Linked DNA regions of Homo sapiens: region 2 is linked to region 1. Evidence: promoter capture Hi-C in 16 types of primary human blood cells and fetal thymus (Javierre and others, 2016). All regions are on one chromosome and are shown on one strand. The core of a region is centred on a gene start or on the middle of the fragment in contact, and the rest is flanking DNA. Distances in the headings are between cores, read along the strand shown. Region 1 holds the start of NCKAP1L (NCK associated protein 1 like). Region 2 overlaps GPR84-AS1 (GPR84, ZNF385A, ITGA5 and GTSF1 antisense RNA 1).

Region 1 (5,407 bases), core at 2,837-5,336:
TTTTTGTATTTTTTGTAGGGATGGAGATTCACCATGTTTCCCAGGTTGGTCTTGAACTCCTGGGCTCAAGCCATCTGCCTGCCTCAGCCTCCCAAAGTGCTGGGGTTATAGATGTGAGCCACTGCGTCTGGCCTAGTTCCATTTTTAAACCTAGAGTTTTTCTTTATGAGTGTCAAATAGAATCCACAGAAAGTGACATAACAAGCTCACTACACACTCAAAGATCAAAATTTTACTTTACTGTTGACATTCCTAATCCAATGTAGCAGGTCTTGAACCAAATGTTTACATATGCCATATTATTTCATCAGTTCCACAGTCGTATGAGGGATTACCACCATTTTATAGATTAGGAAACAACTCAATGGTGATAGATAGCTAAAGTTACAAAGCTAGTAAGTGTTTAGCATTATTAATATTAATTGAGGTAATACATGTAAGCTTGAGTGCTTATAGTACTTCAAATGCTTTACATGTACAGAGTAAGTAACTAGGCTATAACTTTTAAAATATGCACAATAGCTCCGTGAAATAGGAAGTATTATCAATATCATCTTTATTTTACAGACAGGATAAATAGGATGTGAACTCAAGATATCTGGTTCCAGAACCTGGGCTCTCGGTCACTAAATCATAAGGCTCAGCCCACTGTACTCAACTACACTTGAGCCAAATTCTGTCTGATAACAGCAGGTAGGCTTTTCGCATATACCAAGTACAGGGGAATAAGTGTTTCCAGGTTTCAACAATCTTTTGGTTCAGCTGGCTAGGCAGTATTATATGAAATGGGCAGTTAAGGACAGAACCTGATTTAGATGTAAAGTATGTGGTATAGACCAAGTGTTGTGGGAGTTCGGCAAAACCTAGACTTGGGACTATTGAGCTAGATCCTGAAGATTGACTAGGATTTGGGTAAGCAAGAAGGAAAGCATGCGTAAGTGAAGTCAGAGAGGCAGACATGAACATAGCACATTCACAGCAGGCTGAGAAGATGGTCCCCACCAAGTTGGGGAGTATCCATTAAGGAGCAGGAAACAAGATTAGCTTGGGATGCAGAGTCTTCAACCACACTTTCAGGATAAAGACAAGAAATTCAAGTGAGGTGGCTCACAAAAAATACAAAAATTAGCCAGACGTGGTGGCCTGCACCTGAAGTCCCAGCTACTCAGGAGGCTGAAGTGAGAGGATCTCTTGAGCCTGGGAGGTCAAGGTTGCAGTGAGCCATGATAGCACTACTGCACTCAAGCCTGGGCAACAGAGCGAGAGCTTGTCTCAGGAAAAAAAAAAAAAAAAAAAAAAGGAATGCAAGAAAGAGCCGCTAGAATTACACTAACCCCACGAAGACCGGTGCTATGCTGCTGCTAAGCTTCCTGGATGTTGGCCTCTTACTGTCTGCTCCATATTCTCCTTGGTAAAGGTAAAAGACCAGTAGAAATCCTACAAATTGCTTTAGTAAAACCTGGGTTTCTTTGATAACAGCAGGTAATTCAAATCTTCATGACCAATATCACATTACCTCGAGCCCATAGCTTTCTAGGGACCCAGTCTAGTAAATAAAATGGAAGGCAGATTCTATATTCCTAAAATGCAAATTCTACCTTAGAGATATTTGAAATTTCATGCGTTAAGTGTTGCCATCTTGCTGCTTCTTTTAAAAATACATTCTCTTTGGAGCATGGATGTTAAGTTTCTTTTTAAAATTAAAAAACATTTAGATTCAGGGGATACACATGCAGGTTTGTTACATGGGTATATTGTGTGATGCTGAGATTTGGGCTTCTAATGAACCCATCACCCATGCCCAAATAGTGAACACAGTACTCAAGTTTTTTTTTCTTTCTTGCCTTTATTTATTTATTTATTTATTTATTTATTTATTTAGAGACATAGTCTTGCTCTATCGACCAGGCTGGAGTGCGGTGTTGAACTCCTGGGCTCAAGCGACCATCCCACCTCAGCCTCCTGAGGAGCTGGGCCTACAGCCATGTACCACCACACCAGGCTAATTTATTTTATTTTATCTGTAGAGGGGTGGGGGAAGGTCTCACAATGTTGCCTAGGCTGGTCTTGAACTCCTGGCTTCAAGCAATCCTTCTACCTTTGCCTCCCAAAGTGCTGGGATTATAAGCATGAGCCACTTCACCTGGCCCCAACTTCTTAAGTAATAATGCTGATCAGCCTTGTCTCTCTTCTCCCACTCCCTAGAATTTATTGGGACAATGGGAACTCTGGATACGGAAAATGGGAATGATTAAAAACCTGAGAAAAGGAATTGGCAAGGTGGTGGAAATGAAGAGAACTCTTTTTGATTTATAATTTTTCCTAGGACCTTTTGCTTTGTGTCTTGAAAGAAAGTTGAAATAGAGTTGAAAATTTTCTTGAGTTACGGAGTTAAGGCCTCATTGGAATGGCAAGAATATTTTAATGCTAAAATTCATTCAAGTCTCTAAGATTTAAGGGTGATTACTAATTTCCTCTTTTTAATCTTGATTAATTTGGTTCTTCTTCATGGGGCCTATTTCCTAATTTAGTCTTAATAATTCAACAAATAAACCAGCATATTTATTGAGTGACTACTGTGTCCAAGAGGTATTGTTCTAGATCAGTGTTTTTCAGAATGGAATATTTGTACCAAAACCTCCTACAACAGTGCTTATATAAGTACAGACTTCTAGGCCCCACAACAGACTCGCCTACCTACCAATGCTAATCTCAGAGGACAGGGATTGATCTGTTTCTCAAGCATCCATAAATACCATGGTACTAGAGCACTGGTTCTCAAACTTGAGTGTGCATTGGAATCACCTGGAGGGTTTGTTAAAACACAGAGTGCCTGGACCCACCCCAGAATTTTGGATTCAGTGGTCTGGGGCGGGTCCTAAGAATTTGCATCTCTAACAAGTTTCCAGGTGATGCTGATGCTGCTGGATCACATTTTGAGAATTACTATGTACTTCTTGAGAACTACTTTGAGAATTATTATGTACTGTAGAAGTACAATGCACTGTAGTAGAGCATTGTGAGAAATATAAAAAAGTATTAGAGGCCGGGTGTGGTGGCTCATGCCTGTAATTCCAGTACTTTGGGAGGCTGTGGCGGGTAAATCACCTGAGGTCAGGAGTTCGAGAGCAGCCTGGCCAACACGGTGAAACCCCATGTCTACTAAAAATACAAAAATTAGCAAGGCGTGGTGGTGGGCACCTGTAACCACAGCTACTCCAGAGGCTGAGGCTGGAGAATTGCTTGAGCCCAGGAGGTGGAGGTTGTAGTGAGCAGAGATCATGCCATTGCACTCCAGCCTGGGCAACAAGAGTGGAACTCTGTTTCAAAAAAAAAAAAAAAAAGAAAAAAAAGTATTAGGTACAATTCCTGTCATTAAGGAGCTTATGCTGTAGTTGGGGGAGATACAACGTACACTATAAACATATAACAAGGAATATATGTATTTGACAATATAAAATATAATACAATATAATATTTGACATTGATGGGGTCTTTAGGAGAAGATGGGATTTGATCTGGGTACTAAAACATGATGAGGCCAAAGGTTCATAGGCATTCTTGGATATAAAAGAAGGAAAATATAGAGGTGTACAGGGGTGGGGTGGTAGATACTTGTTTATCTAGCTTACAGCTTTTAATTTTTATTTTTTATAGAGATGGGGTCTTGCTATGTTGCCCAGGCTGGTCTGGAACTCCTGAGCTCAATGGATCTTCCCACCTTTTCCTCCCAAAGTGCTGGGATTACAGGTGTGAGCCACCACGCCCAGCTTTGTCTAGGACACTTATGGGGGCATAAGACCAAAAAGGTTGGTGCAGTCTGTGAAGAGCCTTGAAAGCCTGTCCTTCTCCTCAGCTCCACCCACTTCATAGCCTTACCAAAAGTGCTGCACAGCCAGAAAGAGGAAGTCTCCCCTGCTGAGTGTGCAAGAGGAAGCACAAGAAGGCTCTGAGGGCCTGTGAGCCATAATGACTGATTTCACCCATGAGCCAATTGCAGAGGCAACAGAAGACCAGTGCACCAACCAGGCTGGGTCCCTCCGCCAGAGGGTGTCACCATCTAAGCTGAAAGTGTTTGGGGAGATCAGACATTGCTGTCTGGTGCTCCTCTCTCAGTGGCCATCATGTCTTTGACATCTGCTTACCAGCATAAATTAGCAGAGAAGCTCACTATCCTGAATGATCGCGGTCAGGGGGTTCTCATCCGTATGTATAACATCAAGAAGGTAAGCATGAACAATGGGACTAGTACTGATTATTCCAACAATAATAGGGCAGGGAACCCTGAGGCGGCAGGTGCAGCAGTTAGACTCCCACCTTTTTTTCCACTGCTTTTCCACTGACTATAATCTACATAATCACTCAGATTATACAGGCCAGCCAGTTCAGGAAGGCAGAAGTGGAGGCTTCTTTTCAAGGCTTCCCCTTTCTAGATATGATTCTTGCCCCAACGATGGCATCTGCTTTCCTCTGGGGATGGGGGTGAGGGTGGGGATGGGGAAACAACAGTGGTATTCCAAGTGACTTGGATAAAGGTCTGGGGTCCAACCTTCTGGGTTTTATTATTTATTGTTGATCCTCTACACTCTGAAGAGATCTGAAGCTGGGTCTCTGGCAAAAACTTTTCTGTGGAAGTGCTTCCCTAAAAGGAAAAAAAATAGATAATTAGGTATTTAGATTAAAAAGGGTAGGTGTCTTCTGAGCTGCTCCTGGGGTAGTTCATGCTGTGGTGGTTGTGTGTGTGTGTGTGTGTGTGTGTGTGTGTGTGTTTAGAATAGGAACTGAGGAATTGAAAGAAGCTAGTGACAAGAGGTGGGCTAGGGGCTGGGCAAACCATAGGAAGTAAAGAGATAAAGACAGGGGTGTTTATGGGGAGTTCCTGGCATAGAAAATAGGGGACTTTGGGGGAGGGAGCTTTTGTGTTTTTTGTAATAAAACAAATCACCAGGAACACGGTTTCTCTGTCACCATGAATCCTGTAAATGCCCTTTGGGATAAGATACTTACATAGTGAACAAAATTGTGACACTGAATCTTGTACAAAGTCTAACTCCTGAGCAGCTGCTTTTCTTGTTCCTTCCGGCTTCAGTTGAGGGGCGGGGAAACAGCTTCCTCTTTGTGCTGGGGCCAAGCAGGCATTAAACTCTACCCATCAAGACAAAATGCCTAGGTTGTTATTTCGCTCTTAGATACTTGGCTTAATGTCTTGGAATTTTTTCTTGACCTACTCTTATGCTTTTTATTTTTATATTTATTTATTTATTTATTTATTTATTTATTTTCGGAGTCTCGCTCTGTCGCCCAGGCTGGAGTGCAGTGGCACGATCTTGGCTCACTGCAACCTCCGCCTCCCGGGTTCAAGCGATTCTCCTGCCTCAGCCTCCCAAGTACCTGGGACTACAGTTGT
Region 2 (5,277 bases), core at 1,848-4,347, 64 kb before region 1:
GAAGTTCCAACTAGAGCAAGTCTGCCCTTCTTTGGCTCCCAATTTTGTCTTTCCTAAATCAAAGGAATTGGGCTAGGTGATCCTTGAGGTTCCATCTTACCCCAACACATTCAGATTCTCATACAGGAACTCAGGGGAAAACCAGGGTTGCGGCTGGAGTCCTTGTGTGGGGGCCAGGAATAAACAAATAATTGGTAACCAGGATGAGCTCAGTGATCTAGGGGAAAGGCTCTGTAGGGGGTGATGGGAAGGAAGCCAGGAAAGGAGAGACCAGACCCCAGAAAACTGAATGGAGCATGGACTCATTCATTCATGCAACCATGTACCTTCAGAAACTAAAACCTAGGGGCCGGGCGCGGTGGTTCACACCTGTAATCCCAGCACTTTGGGAGGCTGAGGCGGGTGGATCACGAGGTCAGGAGTACAAGACCAGCCTGGCCAACATGGTGAAACCCCGTCTCTACTAAAAATACAAAAATCAGCTGGGTGTGGTGGCGCGCGCCTGTAATCCCAGCTACTCGGGAGCCTGAGGCAGAGAATCACTTGAACCCAGGAGGCACAGGTTGCAGTGAGCCGAGATTGCACCACTGCATTCCAGCCTGGGTGACAGAGCGAGACTCCGTCTCAAAAAAAAAAAAGAAGAAGAAGAAAAAAAAAGAAACTAAAACCTAGGAATCTGAGCTTCCCATTCAACAAGGTTATAATGAGCCCATGGGCTCTGGATGTCTAGGAAGGGCAAACTCCCAGGTCCCTCCCCAATTTTTGAGGTATTACAGGAAAAAACAGCTAATAGTTATCAAGTACCAGGTATAGATCTAAGCATTTTACATATGCGACCTCATTTAACCTCAAAATAATACTATGAAGCAGCATTTTATATCTTTCAAATTGATTTCTTCATTTAATCCTCCTCAACTGCCCTCTAAAGTTAACAAGGGCATTTGACTGATGAGGAATCTTTGAAAGTGGGAAAAGATGAAACTAGATTTCTAGTAGAATTTTCTAAGTGGTAATGGTGGGAGCCCCTGCAAGGAGTTAGAGGATTCTCACTTCCTAGCAAGATCTTTTCTGACTCTAGGCTTCCAGATTGTGGGGGGTGGAGTGTGCTTTCCAGATCTTGATGAATGGCAGATAAAGATATGCATCAAGTTACTGATCAGGAGCAAGAAAATGGCACTCTGGTGTCTTTGAGAATGTTTCTAAGAAGTCTCTAGAGATAGAAACAATCACAGGATTGAGGATTACCTTAAATCTGCAAAGAGACCTTGACAGGCCAGAGGCAGAATTCTGAGTGAGTTAGCTCCCCTTTGTTTCTACCAACTGCTGGTCAGCAGCAGGAGAGAAGGAAATTAGATATATGGAGGGATTTATCTATTGTTTGGGGCTGATAGGAGAATCCTGCCTCCTGTGGGTAATAGTGAAGTTAATTCTTCTATCACTGTAATCAGCAGGAGTTAGAGGTGTGAGTGGTAGTGTTAGTGGAGAGGGGGGATGGTAGTGAGGATGGGCTTGCCTGGAAGACCTCTGACCAGCTAGAAGAGCCTGAGATTTTGAGGGGGAGGAGATAATTTGCCAGACGGGTACTTGCGGAGAGGGTCCAAGTGTTTGGGCTCCAGCCTGGGGTGAAGTCAGAGACATAAATCACACCTTCCAACTGCCTGTTTCCGCTTTGAGCTCAGTTCCCAGCCAAAAGCCCAGCTAGCCTGCCAGAGGAGTAAGCGTGTGGATGGGGGAGGGGCCAAAGAGCTGGAAGCTGGTGATTGGGAATGGGCGTCATCAGCTGGGAATCTGGTCTCATCAGGGTCATGAAATGGACTCAATGCCAGGGCTGGTAGAGCAGGGAGCCCAAGGATCTCAACAGAACTGCTCTGTAGATACCTCATCCCACGTGAGACACACCCACAACCACACCCTGTTTGCTGAATTCTCCTCTCCCACACATAAAAACCACTGGGACGTGCCTGGAGGCACAGACACCTACATAGACACACCCCCCACCCCCATCCAGCTGTTGCTCACTTGTGCCAGAAAACTCTACGTCTCCTGGATGAGTAGACCTAGGAGAAATGAGTGCGGGTTGAGAGATAAGGAGGATCCTGGATCTTCATTAAGATCTGGAAACACTTTTCTCTAGTAATCTTAAAGCCCTGTTCTGTGTCATCTTTTTGCCTTTCCCCACTGGGGATGGGTCTGGGTGATTTCCCTTCTCACTTTAGGAGAACCTCAGTGGTCTGTTGTCCTCTTGGTGGGCAGTGCCTGCTAATCACAGTGATGGCAGAGCAGGAGGCAAGAGATTGAGTGTGCATGTTGGGCGGGGTAGGTGTTTGAGGGCAGGAAATCCAGAAAGCCACTCAGACAATGGCCTTTTCCGCACGCTTGGGTCCAGGCTGCAGGCTGCTGGATCCTGTCTGACCCTAACAGCAGCTCCTATTTTTCCCTCTGGTTAGCTTCCCACTCAATGCTCATTTCGGGGCATATAGGAGAGGCAGGATTCCTTTGGAGGAAAGGTATCCTGTTCATCAGCCCTTTTCCAGGTGACTGTTCGGGTTGACCACAAGGATTTGGGGGCTTAAGTAACCTTATCAAGCCTGGGACCACCCCACCCATGCCTAGTGTCCTCTTAAATGTAGCATTTGTTATGGCCTCCTACATGGTACAGCTGTAAGCACTTTGACATCTTAAGGGAATCATGATGCTCTTATTTTGGGCTAAGTTTGCCCCATTTTGTTCTCTGAATTGTCTGTTTGTATCCTATTAGACTGGAAACTTGAATGAAGCAAAGATTGTGTCTGTCAATTGGTACAGCCCCGGACTAGCATTAGGAAAATAATATGTCTTTTGATATTCAAGGTGACAAAATGATTACAATGAAGATAGAAGATCTTGGGAATGCTGGAATATATTTTTTCCTAGAAAAGTGGGGGTAGGTCACAGCTACCATGGCCACTTAAATGGGGGTAAAATGACCCTGAGGTCTCCAATCTCTCCCTTCTCCTGTACCTGGGAGAACCAGAAAGCTTCTTTCTAATACACCTTCTGCTTTAGTCATTTGGGTCTCAGTGTCTCAGTATTGTCTCACTAATGTGCCCATTTTGTCTTCAGCTTTGCTCCTGTGATTCCAGTGTCTGGAATGCACTGTCCTCTGTACTGGTCATCAAGGCCCATCCAAGCCCTGCATAAGCTTCCCCATCTCATTCTTTATTTTATTTTATTTTATTTATTCATTTTTTTTTTGAGACAGAGTCTCGCTCTGCTGCCCAGGCCCGAGTGCAGTGGCGCCATCTCGGCTCACTGCAAGCTCCGCTTCCCGGGTTCACGCCATTCTCCTGCCTCAGCCTCCCGAGTAGCTGGGATTACAGGCGCCCACCACCACGCCCGGCTAATTTTTTTGTATTTTTAATAGAGACGGGGTTTCACCGTGTTAGCCAGGCTGGTCTCGATCTCCTGACCTCATGATCCGCCTGCCTCGGCCTCCCAAAGTACTGGGATCACAGGTGTGAGCTACTGCGCCTGGCCTCTTTATTTTATTTTAAAATATTTATTTATTCATTTATTTATTTATTTGAGATGAAGTCTTGCTCTGTTACCCAGGCTGGAGTGCAGTGGCGTGATCTCGGCTCACTGCAACCTCTGCCTCCTAGGTTAAAGTGAATCTCTTGCCTCAGCCCCCTGAATAGCTGGGATTACAGGTGCCAACCACCATGCCTGGCTAATTTTTATATTTTTAGTAGAGACGGGGTTTTACCATGTTGGCCAGGCTGGTCTTGAACTCCTGACCTCAAGTGATCTGCCTGCCTCGGCTGCCGAAAGTGCTGGGATTACAGGTGTGAGCCACTGAGCCTGGACTTCCCCAGCTCATTCTAAATCTCAGCAATGTGCCACTATTCTGAAGTCCTAGGCTTATAGTCTGGAGTACATGGTCTAGCACTTAATTATCCAGTGTATTAATAAAGTCCTTGTATAATTTAGAAATTGAATACATTTGAATGCACCTATGATAGAAGCAACTCTAAATATTTTATGAAAGCATGTTCCATAGAATTTTTTTTTTTTTTTTTTAGACTGAGTCTCGCTCTGTTGTCCAGGCTGGAGTGCAATGACACGATCTTGGCTCACTGCAATGTCCGCCACCTGGGTTCAATGATTCTCCTGCCTCAGCCTCTTGAGTAGCTGGGATTATAGGCACGCGCCACCACCCCCAGCTAATTTTTGTATTTTTAGTAGAGACGGGGTTTCACCATGTTGGTCAGGCTGGTCTCGAACTCCTGACCTTGTGATCTGCCTGGCTCAGCCTCGCAAAGTGCTGGGATTACAGGCGTGAGCCACTGCGCCTGGCCAGAATTTTTAATGATAATGTTTGCTTTTTGTTAATGTGCTTTTATTTTATACAGGGAAGTCATCTGAAAAGACTTGAGTTTGAAAGTTGCCTCCCTTACTTAACAGATATGTAACCTTGGCAAGTTACTTAACCTCCTTGGGTCTCAATATCTTCACCTGTAAAATGGCAGTAATATCTTTCTCATAGATTTGTTGGGATAATTAAACTAATATACTATATGTATGGTTACAGTACTTGGTTATAAATATTAAAGCCTCATTCTGTCTGTTGATAAATCTGAAATCTATTTAAACTCTGATGTGCTCTCTGTAATGTTGTTTTTTGTTTTGTTTTTTTGAGATGGAGTCTCACTCTGTCGCCCAGGCTGGAGTGCAGTGGCGTGATCTTGGCTCACTGCAACCTCTGCCTCCTGGGTTTCAAGTGTTTCTCGTGCCTTAGCCTCCCGGGTAGCTGGGATTGAATGGAATGTATTTTATAGATCAAGTCTCAGCACAAACACTGATTCCTCCAAGAAGCATTCATTAATTCCCCACCCAGTACTCCTGATTTCACTAGTCACAGCATCTACCCCACTATATTGTATTTTCCTGTTTGTCTCTCCTTTTAGACTAAGTTCTGTGAGGTAAGGATCTTGTTTACTTCTGTTTTTCCACTGCCAAGTACGTTGCCTGGCTAAACAAATATTTGAATAAACTGAACCTGTTTTTAAAGCAATGGTAAACATAACACAGCAACATTACAAAACTAATTTCTGAATTGTGTGACATTGTTTTTTACAACGTAGTCTTCTAGCAAGATAGCGTTTCTTACTATCATGTTTTTAATTTGCATCTAATTATTGAATTGGATCCAGAGATGTGGTCCAATTACTTGTTAACTTTTGTCACCTGACCTGTCCCCACAAATTATATTTTATAAGTGTGGCAGAGACCACTCAT

What was found. The method cuts DNA at HindIII sites, captures the fragments that hold promoters and counts their contacts. A CHiCAGO score of 5 or more calls a contact.
Region 2: a contact is called between a fragment that was not itself captured here and the fragment with the promoter of NCKAP1L in region 1, in 1 of 17 cell types (M2 macrophages). The highest score is 6.3, in M2 macrophages.

The regions. Positions count from the first base shown.
Region 1 is chr12:54,493,666-54,499,072 of GRCh38, forward strand. It overlaps NCKAP1L (NCK associated protein 1 like), which reads left to right and starts at 4,087. Exons shown (of 31, transcript NM_005337.5): 1 at 4,087-4,226. The coding sequence starts at 4,125. RefSeq lists enhancers at 4,049-4,108, 4,219-4,278. The HindIII fragment of the contact is 9,210 bases long and covers 1,365-5,407 here.
Region 2 is chr12:54,430,682-54,435,958 of GRCh38, forward strand. All of the region lies in intron 3 of GPR84-AS1 (GPR84, ZNF385A, ITGA5 and GTSF1 antisense RNA 1), which reads left to right. Among named protein-coding and RNA genes, the nearest start is that of ITGA5, 14 kb to the left of the region's middle. The HindIII fragment of the contact is 164 bases long and covers 3,016-3,179 here.